Linked DNA regions of Homo sapiens: region 1 is linked to region 2. The links are contacts of gene promoters, found by promoter capture Hi-C in blood cells and fetal thymus (Javierre and others, 2016). All regions are on one chromosome and are shown on one strand. The core of a region is centred on a gene start or on the middle of the fragment in contact, and the rest is flanking DNA. Distances in the headings are between cores, read along the strand shown. Region 1 has its middle 140 kb from the start of KIF5B. Region 2 holds the start of EPC1 (enhancer of polycomb 1).

Region 1 (5,185 bases), core at 1,131-3,630, 150 kb before region 2:
AAATTTCATCCACATTGTAGTATGTGTCAGAATGTACTTCCTTTTTAAGGCTGAATAATATTCCATGGTAGGTATATATCACAATTTGTTTATCTACTCATCCATCAATGGACATTTGGGTTGCTTCTACCTTTTGGTTATTGTGAATAATGGTGCTATGAATATAGGTATACAAATATCTCTCCAAGGCCCTACTTTTGATTATTTTGGGTGTATACTCAGAAAGAAAACTGCCAGATAATGTGGTAGTTCTATTTTCAATTTTTTGAGGAGCCGTCATGCGATTTTCCACAGTGGCCGCACCACTTTACATTTTTACCAGCAGTGTAGGAGGGTTCCACATTCACCATTTCTTGCCAACACTTGTTATTTTTTGCTTTTTGTGTTTGTGATTTTTGTTTGTTTGTTTGTTTTTGAGAGCAGCCATTCTAATATGTATGAGGTGGTATCTCATGAGGTGGTTTCGCTTTGGATTTCCCTAATGATTAGCAATACTGAGCATCTTTTCATGTGCTTATTGGCCATTTGTGTATCTTCTTTGAAGTTCTTTGCCAATTTTTAAATTGGGTTGTTTTGTTGTTGAGTTGTGAGAGTTCTTTATATATTCTAGCTATTAACTCCTTATTAGATATATGATTTGCAAATGCTTTATCCCATTCCATGGGTTTTTGGCTTTTCACTCTGTTGATAGTGTCCTTTGATTCAAATAAGTTTTTAATTTTGATGTAATCCAATTTATGTCTTTTTTATTGTTGTCTGTGTGTTGGTGTTATATCCAAAAAGTCACTGCCAGATCTTATGTCATGAAGATTTTCTTGTATGTTTTCTTCTAAGAGTTTTATAGTTTTAGGTCTTATATTTATGTTTTTGATCTATTTTGAGTTAATTTTGTATATGAGTCCTACTTCATTTTTTTTGTATGTGGATATCCAGTTTTCCCAACATCAATTTTTGAAAAGACTGTCCTTTCTCCATTGAATGGTCTTGTCATCCTTGTTGAAAATCATTTGACCATATATGCAATGGTTTATTTTGGGGCTGTCTACCCCATTCCATTGGTCTATATGTCTTTTTTTTAATGCCAGTACCACACTGTTTTGATTATTGTAGCTTTGTTGAAATCAGGAGGGGGCGAGTCCTCCAGCTTTGTTCTTTTTTAAGATTGTTTTCAGCCAGGTGCGGTGGCTCACACCTGTAATCCCAGCACTTTGGAAGGCCGAGGCAGGCGGATCACGAGGTCAGGAGTTTGAGACCAGCCTGCCCAACATGGTGAAACCCCATCTCTACTAAAAATACAAAAATTAGCTGGGCATGGTGGTGTACACCTGTAATCTCAGCTACTCAGGAGGCCGAGGCAGGGCAATTGCTTGAAACTGGGAGGCGGAGGTTGCAATGAGCCCAGATGGTGCCACTGCACTCCAGCCTGGGTGACAGAGTGAGACTTCATCTCAAAAAAAGGAAAAGACTGTTTTGGCTATTTGGGGTCCCTTGAGATTTCATATTAATTATAATTTTAGTATGGATTTTTCTATTTCTGCAAAAAATATCATTGGGATTTGGATAGGATTTGAACCTGTGGATTGCTTTGCATAGTATAAACATCTTAACAACAGTAAGTCATACATTCTATGGACATGAGACCTTTTTCTATTTATTTGTGCCCTAATTTTATTCACCAATGTTTTATAGTTTTTATTGTACAAGTCTTTCGTCTCCTTGATTAAGCTTATTCTAAGCATTTTATTCTCTTCGATACTATTATAAATAAAATAGTTTTGGCCAGGTGCAGTGGCTCACACCTGTAATCCCTTTGGGATTACAGCCTGTAAACTTTGGGAGGCTGAGGCAAGTGGATCATGAGGTCAAGAGATCAAGGCCATCCTGGCCAACATGGTGAAACCCCGTCTCTACTAAAAATACAAAAATTAGCTGGGCGTGGTGGCACGTGCCTGTAATCCCAGCTACTCTGGAGGCTGAGGCAGGAGAATCACTTGAACCCAGGAGGCGGAGGTTGCAGTGAGCTGAGATCGCGCTACCGCATTCCAGCCTGGCAACAGAGCGAGACTCTGTCTCAAAAAAATAAATAAATAAATAAAATAAAAATAAATAAATAAAATAGTTTTTAAAATTTATCTTATCAGATTGTTAATTCTTGGCATATAGAAATGTAACTGACTTTGCATGTTGATTTTTTATCCTGCAACTTTGCTACATTCATGTATCAGTTCTAATAATTTTCAGAAATATTTAGGGTTTTCTTTTTTTTTTTTTTTTTGAGTTTCGCTCTTGTTGCCCAGGGTGGAGTGCAATGGCGCGATCTCAGCTCACTGCAACCTCCACCTCCCAGGTTCAAGCAATTCTCCCACCTCAGCCTCCCGAGTAGCTGGGATTACAGGCATGAGCCACCACGCCCGGCTAATTTTGTATTTTTAGTAGAGACAGGGTTTCTCCATGTTGGTCAGGCTGGTCTCGAACTCCTGACCTCAGGTGATCTGCCCGCCTCGGCCTCCCAAAGTGCTAGGATTATAGGTGTAAGCCACCGTGCCCGGCCTATATGTAGGGTTTTCTAAATGTAAAGTCTTATTATCTGTGAACAGAAATAATGTTTTTCTTCCTTTCAAATATGGATGCCATTTACTTGTTTTTCTTGAGTAATTGCTTTGCCTAGACCCTCCAGTACTGTGTTGAGTGGAAATTGTTGGCCGAGCACGGTGGCTCATGCCTGTAATCCCAGCACTTTGGGAGGCCGAGGCAGGTGGATCACCTAAGGTCAGGAGTTCGAGATCAGCTTGGCCAACATGATGAAACCCCATCTCTACAAAAATACAAAAATTAGTGGGGCATGGTGGCAGGGGTCTGTAATCCCAGCTACTAGGGAGGCTGAAGCAGGAAAATCACTTGAACCTGGGAGGCAGAGGTTGCAGTGAGCCAAGAGCCAAGATCGAGCCATTGTACTCCAGCCTGGGCGACAGAGCAAGACTCCGTCTCAAAAAAAAAAAAAAAAAAAGAATTGTCTTGTTCCTGATCTCAGGGAAAAAGCTTTTAGTCTTTAGCCATTGACTATGATGTTAGCTGTGGGCTTTTCATATATGACCTTTATTATGTTGAGGTAGTTTCCTTCTACTTGTTCAGTGTTTTGTATCATAAAAGGGTGTTGGATTTTGTCAAGAGTTTTTTCTGCATCAGTACAGATTATCATGCGTGTTTCCCTTTTCAATCTGTTTTTATGGTGTATTATTATTATTATTATTATTATTATTTTGAGACAGAGTCTTGCTCTGTCCCCCAGGCTGGAGTGCAGTGGCAAGCAATCGTGGCTCACTGCAACCTCTGCCTACCAGGTTCAAGCGATTCTCCTGCCTCAGCCTCCCGAGTAGCTGGGATTACAGGAATGTGGCACCACACCTGGCTAATTTTTGTATTTTTAGTAGAGACGAGGTTTCACCATGTTGGTCAGGCTGGTCTCAAATTCCTGACCTCAAGTGATTTGCCCGCCTCAGCCTCCCAGAGTACTGGGATTATGGGCATGAGCCACGGCTTCTGGCCTATGGTGTATTATTAATACATGGATTGATTTTTGTGATTTGAGCCATCCTTCCATTCAAGGATAAATTCCACTTGGTCATAATGTATAATTCTTTAAATGGGCTGTTGAATTCTATTTGCTAGTATTTTCTTGCAGATTTTTGCATCCCAGTGATTTCTTTTCTTGGAGTGTCTTTGTCTAGCTTTGGTATCATGATAATGCTGGCCTCGCAGGGTGAGTTAAAAATTATTCTCTCTTCTTCCATTTTTTTGAAAGAGTTTGAGAAAGATTGGTGTTAATTTTTCTTTAAATGTTTGGAAGATTTTTTTCAGTGAATTGTTGGGAGGTTTTATATTGCTGATTTAGTCTTCTTTATAGTTCTAGGTCTGTTCAGATTTTCTATTTCTTCATAATTCAGTCTTGGTAGGGTATATGTTTTTAGGAATTTGTCCATTTTATCTGGATTATCCAATTTGCTGGTGCATAATTGTGCATAGTACTCCCTTATAATAATTTTTATTTCTGTAAAATTAGTAATAATGTCCCCTCTTTCACTTCTGATTTTAGTTGAGTCTTCCTTCTTTTTTACTTCCTCAGTTTAGCTACAAGTTTGTCCATTTTTTTATTCTTTTCAAAAAACCAACTCCTGATTTTGTTGACTTTCTCTATTATTTTTCGATTCCTGTTTTGTTTAACTCTGCTCTAATCTTTATTATTTCCTTTCTTCTGCTGGCTTTGGGCTTAGTTTGTTTTTATTTTTTTTCAACTTCCTTATGGCATAAAGTTAGGTTGTTGATTTGAGATCTTTCTTCTTTACTAGTTTGTTTATAGCTATAAATTTCCCTCTTAGCACTGCTTTCACTGCATTTCATAAATTTTGGACTGAGTACTCTGTCACCCAGGCTGGAGTGCAATCTCAGCTCACTGCAACCTCCACCTCCTGCGTTCAAGCAATTCTCCTGCCTCAGCCTCCTGAGTAGCTGGGATTACAGGCACGCACCGTCACAACTGGCTAATTTTTGTATTTTTAATAAAGACGGGGTTTCACCATGTTGCCCAGGCTGGTCTCAAACTTCTGACTGTCAGAGTTAAAGAAAGAGGAAAGAAAGTTGAAACGCCGCTGGCAGTTAAAGACAGGTTTTCTTTAGTCAAAACCTGAAGACACTCCTGGCAGATTGTGGTCAGGAGCACTTTCTCTTACAGACTAAGAGTACATATCGGTTTTAGGGTTATCACAAGCTTGGAATGTTTATGTGTGTGGAGAAGTTTATGACGGGGCTGGAATCTCTCTGGGAGGAGGGGAGGTTATTTTGGGGCAGACATCTTTCTGGCCCGAGGGGGGTTATCTGGGCTAGCATCTTCCTGTCTGGAGGGGGCTAATTTAGGGGCTAGCATGTCTCCGGTCAGGGAGGAGTTTGGAATGTTTCTGGTTGGAGATGTTATCTGTGGTTTATGGTCATGTTGACCATAGCCATTAGGCTGATGCCCCTTGGATTTAGGTGATTTTTTTATTAAGGTGAACTTTAGAATGAGTGGCTTGTCCAAGATGCCAAGATGGCGATGCTCCTGCTGTCACTGACCTCAAGTGATCCACCCATCTCAGCCTCCCAAAATGCTGGGATTACAGGCATGAGCCACCGCCCCCTGCTTTGTCTCATA
Region 2 (5,360 bases), core at 1,000-3,499:
CAAAGTATTCACAGAAGCAAGACTTAACTAAAGTCTAAAGTGTACTGTTGTGCTGTCTTGCTTTAATCAAGGCTTTCCCCTTCCTTGGCTGCTGAACAAGAATTACAAATTAATTTCCAGGGCAGGGTAAAACCAACACCCCAATACTTGAAAGTATTATCTGTAAAACTTAGAAATAAAAATAAAACCAAAAGACAAGATTCTGCAGTCACAAGTACTTTAATTTTTAAAAACAAATCACTTATTAAAAAATAAACAAATGGCCATGCTACTCTAAAGTTGATACAAGTAAAATAAATTAAGAGGTAGTGTCTCATGAGACAATGTGCTGAAAGTCAGTGCCCAACTAGACAATCTGAGCTACTACATACACTTGGCTTATCTGTAAAGTTAGATTTAAGACACTACTCTCAAAAGTAACATTTCACTGTCACAGCTATTTCACTTTAAAAGGTTAAACAACCCAAAGAGTTTAAACAGTTTTATTTCCAAAAACAACATTACAGAGCATAATTTCTACATTAAAAATTCTTACAGTACCAAGAGAAGTATTACAGTACAATTTTCCACAACAAAATTGTAGCACACAAATCCACGCGACTCCTGGACTTCCTTGAACTGTCAATACACTGCACCCTGTTTAAATGGCTGTACCTGAAAACCAAGGTATGCAATTCCTTAGGATTAGAAGTCATCAAGTTATACTGTCAAGGATCTGGGGGAAATGAGAGGAAGATTCTATTATCCTGGTGTCCGAACCCAACTTCCACAACAAGGTAAAGCCACAGCGATGGTAAAATGTCTATTAGTTGTCAACATTTACGTGCTGAAACCCACCCAATTTAGACATCTCAATATTAAGATTTCTGTGAATCAAGTCACTTAGTTTTAGTTCGGTTTTGAATAAGAAAGGATCCTCCTTCGAAATTTAGATCTATAAAAGTTACTTAAATTGGGTCTTTTCTCCCCCTATGTTGAGATACCAGAGAGCAGGAGAACTTAAATTTATTTTACAAATAGGTAAGGTTACAGGCTTCAGAAGAGAGAGGTACTCCAAACAAATCTGCAAGATATTCGCAAGGATCACAGAAAAAGTCAGGGATAGTGGTTTATTATCCTCCGACCAACTAGCTCTGGAGAGGGATGGATACAAACGTCCCAGAAAGAGGACACTGAAAGTAAGTCTTATCTTCTAGAAAAGTAAGTCGTCCGGGCAAACACGCTGCACCCTCGACATTTCCTTGCAGAGGGGGAGAAAAGCCTCATAGAGCAGCAGGCGACATGACATGCCCGTCTGAGGCTCCACGTGGGGGCTGCACTGAGCCCAACAAGCTTCCCAGACCATGGGGCAATCAAATTCCCCGACTGTGCACAGAACCTGCGCTCCCGGCCCGGGCAGCGGCGCGCAGGCCGCAGTGGCCCTGGAGCGCCACCCAGCGGCCCACGGAGAGGCCTGTAGGCGGGTCCTCCACGGCTCCCGACTCGCCGCACCCCCACAGCCACCCAGCCCGTTCCCCTCTCCGGATGCACAAGGCCCAACCCAAGAACTAAGACACAAAATGGCTGCCGGCAGCTTCGTCACGTGACCCCTTTGTGCCTTTCGGGCCCCCGAACTCCGCGGGACCCGGGTACAAGTGGCCAGGGTCAGCGGGTGGCCTTAGAAGGGGCCCCGCTGGGCCGCGGCGGCCGGGGGTCGAGGCTGGGGGAGGCGGGGTATAGGCCCGGCCGGCGACTGAGAGTCGGCGGCGAAGAGAAGATGGCGGCCATTTTGTGTGGGTTTGCTGCTCCGCCGCCGCCGCAGGCAGCAGAGGGAGCGGGCCTGACGGTGGGTCGGACAGGGGAGTTAACACGTACCGACTCCTCTTCCTTCTCCATTCCGGTGGGCATCTGCGGCACGGCCCTGTTTATCGAGGCGTATTCGTGCAGGTCGGGCAGATCCTCACAGCGGAAAACCGGCAGCGGCTTCGAGGCGTCTAGCGCCCGCGCCCGAAACGACAGTTTACTCATCTCAGGCGCAGCAGATACCTCTCCGCTCTGGGGAAACGGCCCCGGCCAGCGGGATCATGGAGAACCGGGGGTTCGGTCCCCACTCGCCAACCGCTGCCGGGGACTTGAGGGGCGGAGCGCAGAGCCCGCCGTCCGGGCACTAACACCAGCCGGGAGGGTGGGAGGCTGTGCCGCTCCGCTCCTCTCTCGCTCGCTCTCTTCAATACGCCATGGCCAACATGGCGGACATTAAAACTCCACTGTGCGCTCTTCAGCCAACCCCAGCCATTCCCCACACTGCATCGCGCAGCGGCGCGGGCACGCGGGCGGGGGGAGGGAGCGCGGGCTCGAGGCCGGCGCCGGCACGAAGCGCGCGTCCCGCCAACCCCCGGCACCCGCCGGCCTCGCTTCCCGCGCCTCGCTGCTCCGGGCCCCCGCCCTTCGCGGGTCCGGGGGCGGACAGGGCGGACTGGGCGCTCGGACACCGGGCGCCGGCTCTTGGGTCGTGCTCTCCTGCAGCGCACACGCTCACTTTCTCACGCTCGCTCCCTCCCGGCGCCGCTTTCTGACGGGCGAACAAGGTGCGGGAAAACTCTCTCCACCAGCACGCCGCCGTTTGGAAAGGCAGCTGGGGAGAGTGGCAGGCGGGGCTCGGGCCCCGGGCACCTGGGGCTCGGAGGGCTCGGACCTCTGGGGTGCTCGCCAGCGGCTGCCCCGGGGCCACGGCCGCCCCCACGGGGCTTCGGAGGGGCGCTCCAGAGGCGCCGCGCGCCGCCGTCTGCCGCGGGGGGCGAACGCACAGCCTAGTTCCCGCGGCGCCTTAGGTCTTTACGATAAAAATACAAACTGAATTAGGGGCAGATGCTACTTTGAGTAAACTTTTATCAGCAGTTATTTTTATGTCCTAATGCAACTTTGGATTATAATGTTTTATAGGCACCGCATCAAGTCATTGATCCGTTTCCCACGCATTGGGCTTAATATAAATGATAGGTATCCTATTCTACAAAGTAGATTTTTTTAAATCCTGCATTTTCATCTACACATATTTACTTTTTAAATAGTAACTGAAGCAAAGGAAATTATTACCCACCACTATAACATTTAAAAGCAAGATCTACTTCAGAATTTAAAGCCAGTTCTTTATATCTAGCTCATGATTCTGTACTCAAAGAGACTGCGGCTTCATCATAGCCGTGGGTTCACACTTTCATCATTTGTCCTCTGAAAAACTTTGTAACATTGAATCATATAAAGACCTGTCGTACTCCCGCCAAACAAAAAGCTGAATTATTAGATTTAGATGGATATGATAGATGGGTGGCATCGGTTTATATTACACATGAAAATGGGTATCCTGAGATCTCTTCGTTGTTGTTGTTGTTAATAGGGAAGATTGTTGGGGTGGGTTTAATAAATTGGCAGCCAAATTTCAATTCGAGTTTCAATTTGTATCTTAGTGCACAATTTTGTATCTTGTGCAACAAGATACAAAAAGATACAAAAATGTTTTGAGTTGCTTTTCTCCCTGGGAACTACGTAGTAAAAGTAATCACGCTCCTTAAATACTGGGCTTGATATGAGCTGTCACTAGCTTAGGGCACACAGGCAAACTGCTAGCCTCCAGGCTGGTTTAGCCAGCTCCCGCGGGGTAGGGAGAAAACAGGACGGATTGCAGTTCTCCAAAATTATACTTAAACTCCGATATTGGCAGCTCACTTAAGTGAGGCATAAGGACGTTCACCTGCATTTCCTACACAGAGACCGTGCCTTTATTCATTCAATGAGTATTGAGGGTGTGTATTGAGCCCTCATAGCCTTCCAAGTCAGCTTGGCACCCACAGGGCTCCTGGAGGAGCTTACACAGTGGGGAGAAGGACCCGCGAATGGCAACTGCCACACGGCGAGCTAAGTGTTATGGTGGAAGCCCAGGCCACTGTGGGAAGGGGCAAGAGTGGCGCCCAACCCAGGAGAGTAGTTCTAATGAAGTAGCAAGGGAAGACTTTTTGGAAGAGATGATATCTGAGTAAAATTATGTAGGATAAGTGTGGGTTAACTTTGCAAAAAAAGTAAAAATGAAGGGAAGAAAGGTATCTTAAGACAACGGTAGCGACGTATCCACAAGCTGAGTCATTAGATAGCAGTCACTTTCTGGGAGCCTCAAGAATTGCCAACTTCACTGTGGAATGACACCTGTTTAGCCAGGTTTAACAGTTCCGAAAATACTGGCTGAATATTATTCTGACAGCCCTCTCCAGCCTACAACATTAGGTTCCTGAAAGTCCTAGCAGTAGAATTCATAATTGAGGAGCCTAAGATTTTAAGAACAAAATAGAGTAAGTCAAGAGTGAACCAAGGAAATGAATTATTTCTACCCTCATTAAAATAACAGTAAACAACAAAATAACTATTTCCACATCCTACATTAGTAATAATGGGTGGAGTACAAAAAAATTTCTTATTCTCTAGAGAGTCTAAAATCACCCTCCGTGGCAAATTCACAGATAAGCTTACAGATTCACTTGCCTTTTGGCAGATAATATTATATGCCTGCTAAGAGACACCTTTTTCTCATCATTCCTTTATCCGTCTCCTCAATGCTGTGGATTTCCAACTCTCAGGTCCTTCTGGGTTCCCAAGGACTCAAAGGCTGGAGTCCCAAGCCTCTTTTATAAAATTAAAACAAACAAACAAACAAAAAAACCCTTTTTTGAAATTTTTGTTTTTTAGAGACAGTGTCTCTATCTCCCAGGCCTGAGTTCAGTGTTGTGATCATGGCTTACTGCAGGCTTGAACTCCTGGGCTCAAGTGATCCTCCTGCCTCAGCCATCAGTAGCTGGGACTAAAGGTACATGCCACCATACCCTGCTAATTTCTAAATTTTTTCTAAAGACAGGGCCTCCCTCTGTTGCCCAGGCTGCTCCTGAGCTCCTGACCTCAAGCAGTCCTCCCACCTCGGCCTCCCAAAGTGCTGGGATTACAGGTGTGAGCCACTGCGTTCGGACCCATGCCTCTTTTTTATGCAGTTCACTTTTCTTCACCTTAAGGGACAGGAAGGCAGCAGTAAAGATTCAGGTTTAGTTTTCCCTAGATTCTTTTATCTGTCCGAAAGATTCCTTGAAAAAATGGTTAATCCTGTACTTTCACTTTAAAAATTCTTTTCTGTTCTCAACTTAAAATTCCTTCTTTTTCTAAGTATCCCCAACAAAAGTGATGTGAAATTCTCGATGTTGCAAACAATGTATGCTAGGGCAAAGGTGAATACCCTAACGGCAGAGGGAAACTCTTGTTTGGGAAAGGATTTGGAGTATTTAAGATAGTTTGATGTCACAAATATGTATTGGATAACCAGGTAACACACAGTACTGTCATTG

Evidence for each region. Contacts are between HindIII fragments. The CHiCAGO score rates a contact against its expected background, and 5 or more counts as called.
Region 1: a fragment that was not itself captured here is called in contact with the fragment with the promoter of EPC1 in region 2 in 1 of 17 cell types (total B cells); the score reaches 6.5 in total B cells.

The regions. Positions count from the first base shown.
Region 1 is chr10:32,192,781-32,197,965 of GRCh38, forward strand. No RefSeq gene overlaps it. Among named protein-coding and RNA genes, the nearest start is that of KIF5B, 140 kb to the left of the region's middle. RefSeq lists a silencer at 3,379-3,572. The HindIII fragment of the contact is 1,314 bases long and covers 1,724-3,037 here.
Region 2 is chr10:32,344,909-32,350,268 of GRCh38, forward strand. It overlaps EPC1 (enhancer of polycomb 1), which reads right to left and starts at 2,250. Exons shown (of 14, transcript NM_001272004.3): 1 at 1,855-2,250. The coding sequence starts at 2,007. It overlaps EPC1-AS1 (EPC1 antisense RNA 1), which reads left to right and starts at 2,456. Exons shown (of 2, transcript NR_104163.1): 1 at 2,456-2,567. RefSeq lists silencers at 1,281-1,560, 2,231-2,700, 2,711-2,840 and enhancers at 1,781-1,880, 1,901-1,960. The HindIII fragment of the contact is 3,163 bases long and covers 1,331-4,493 here.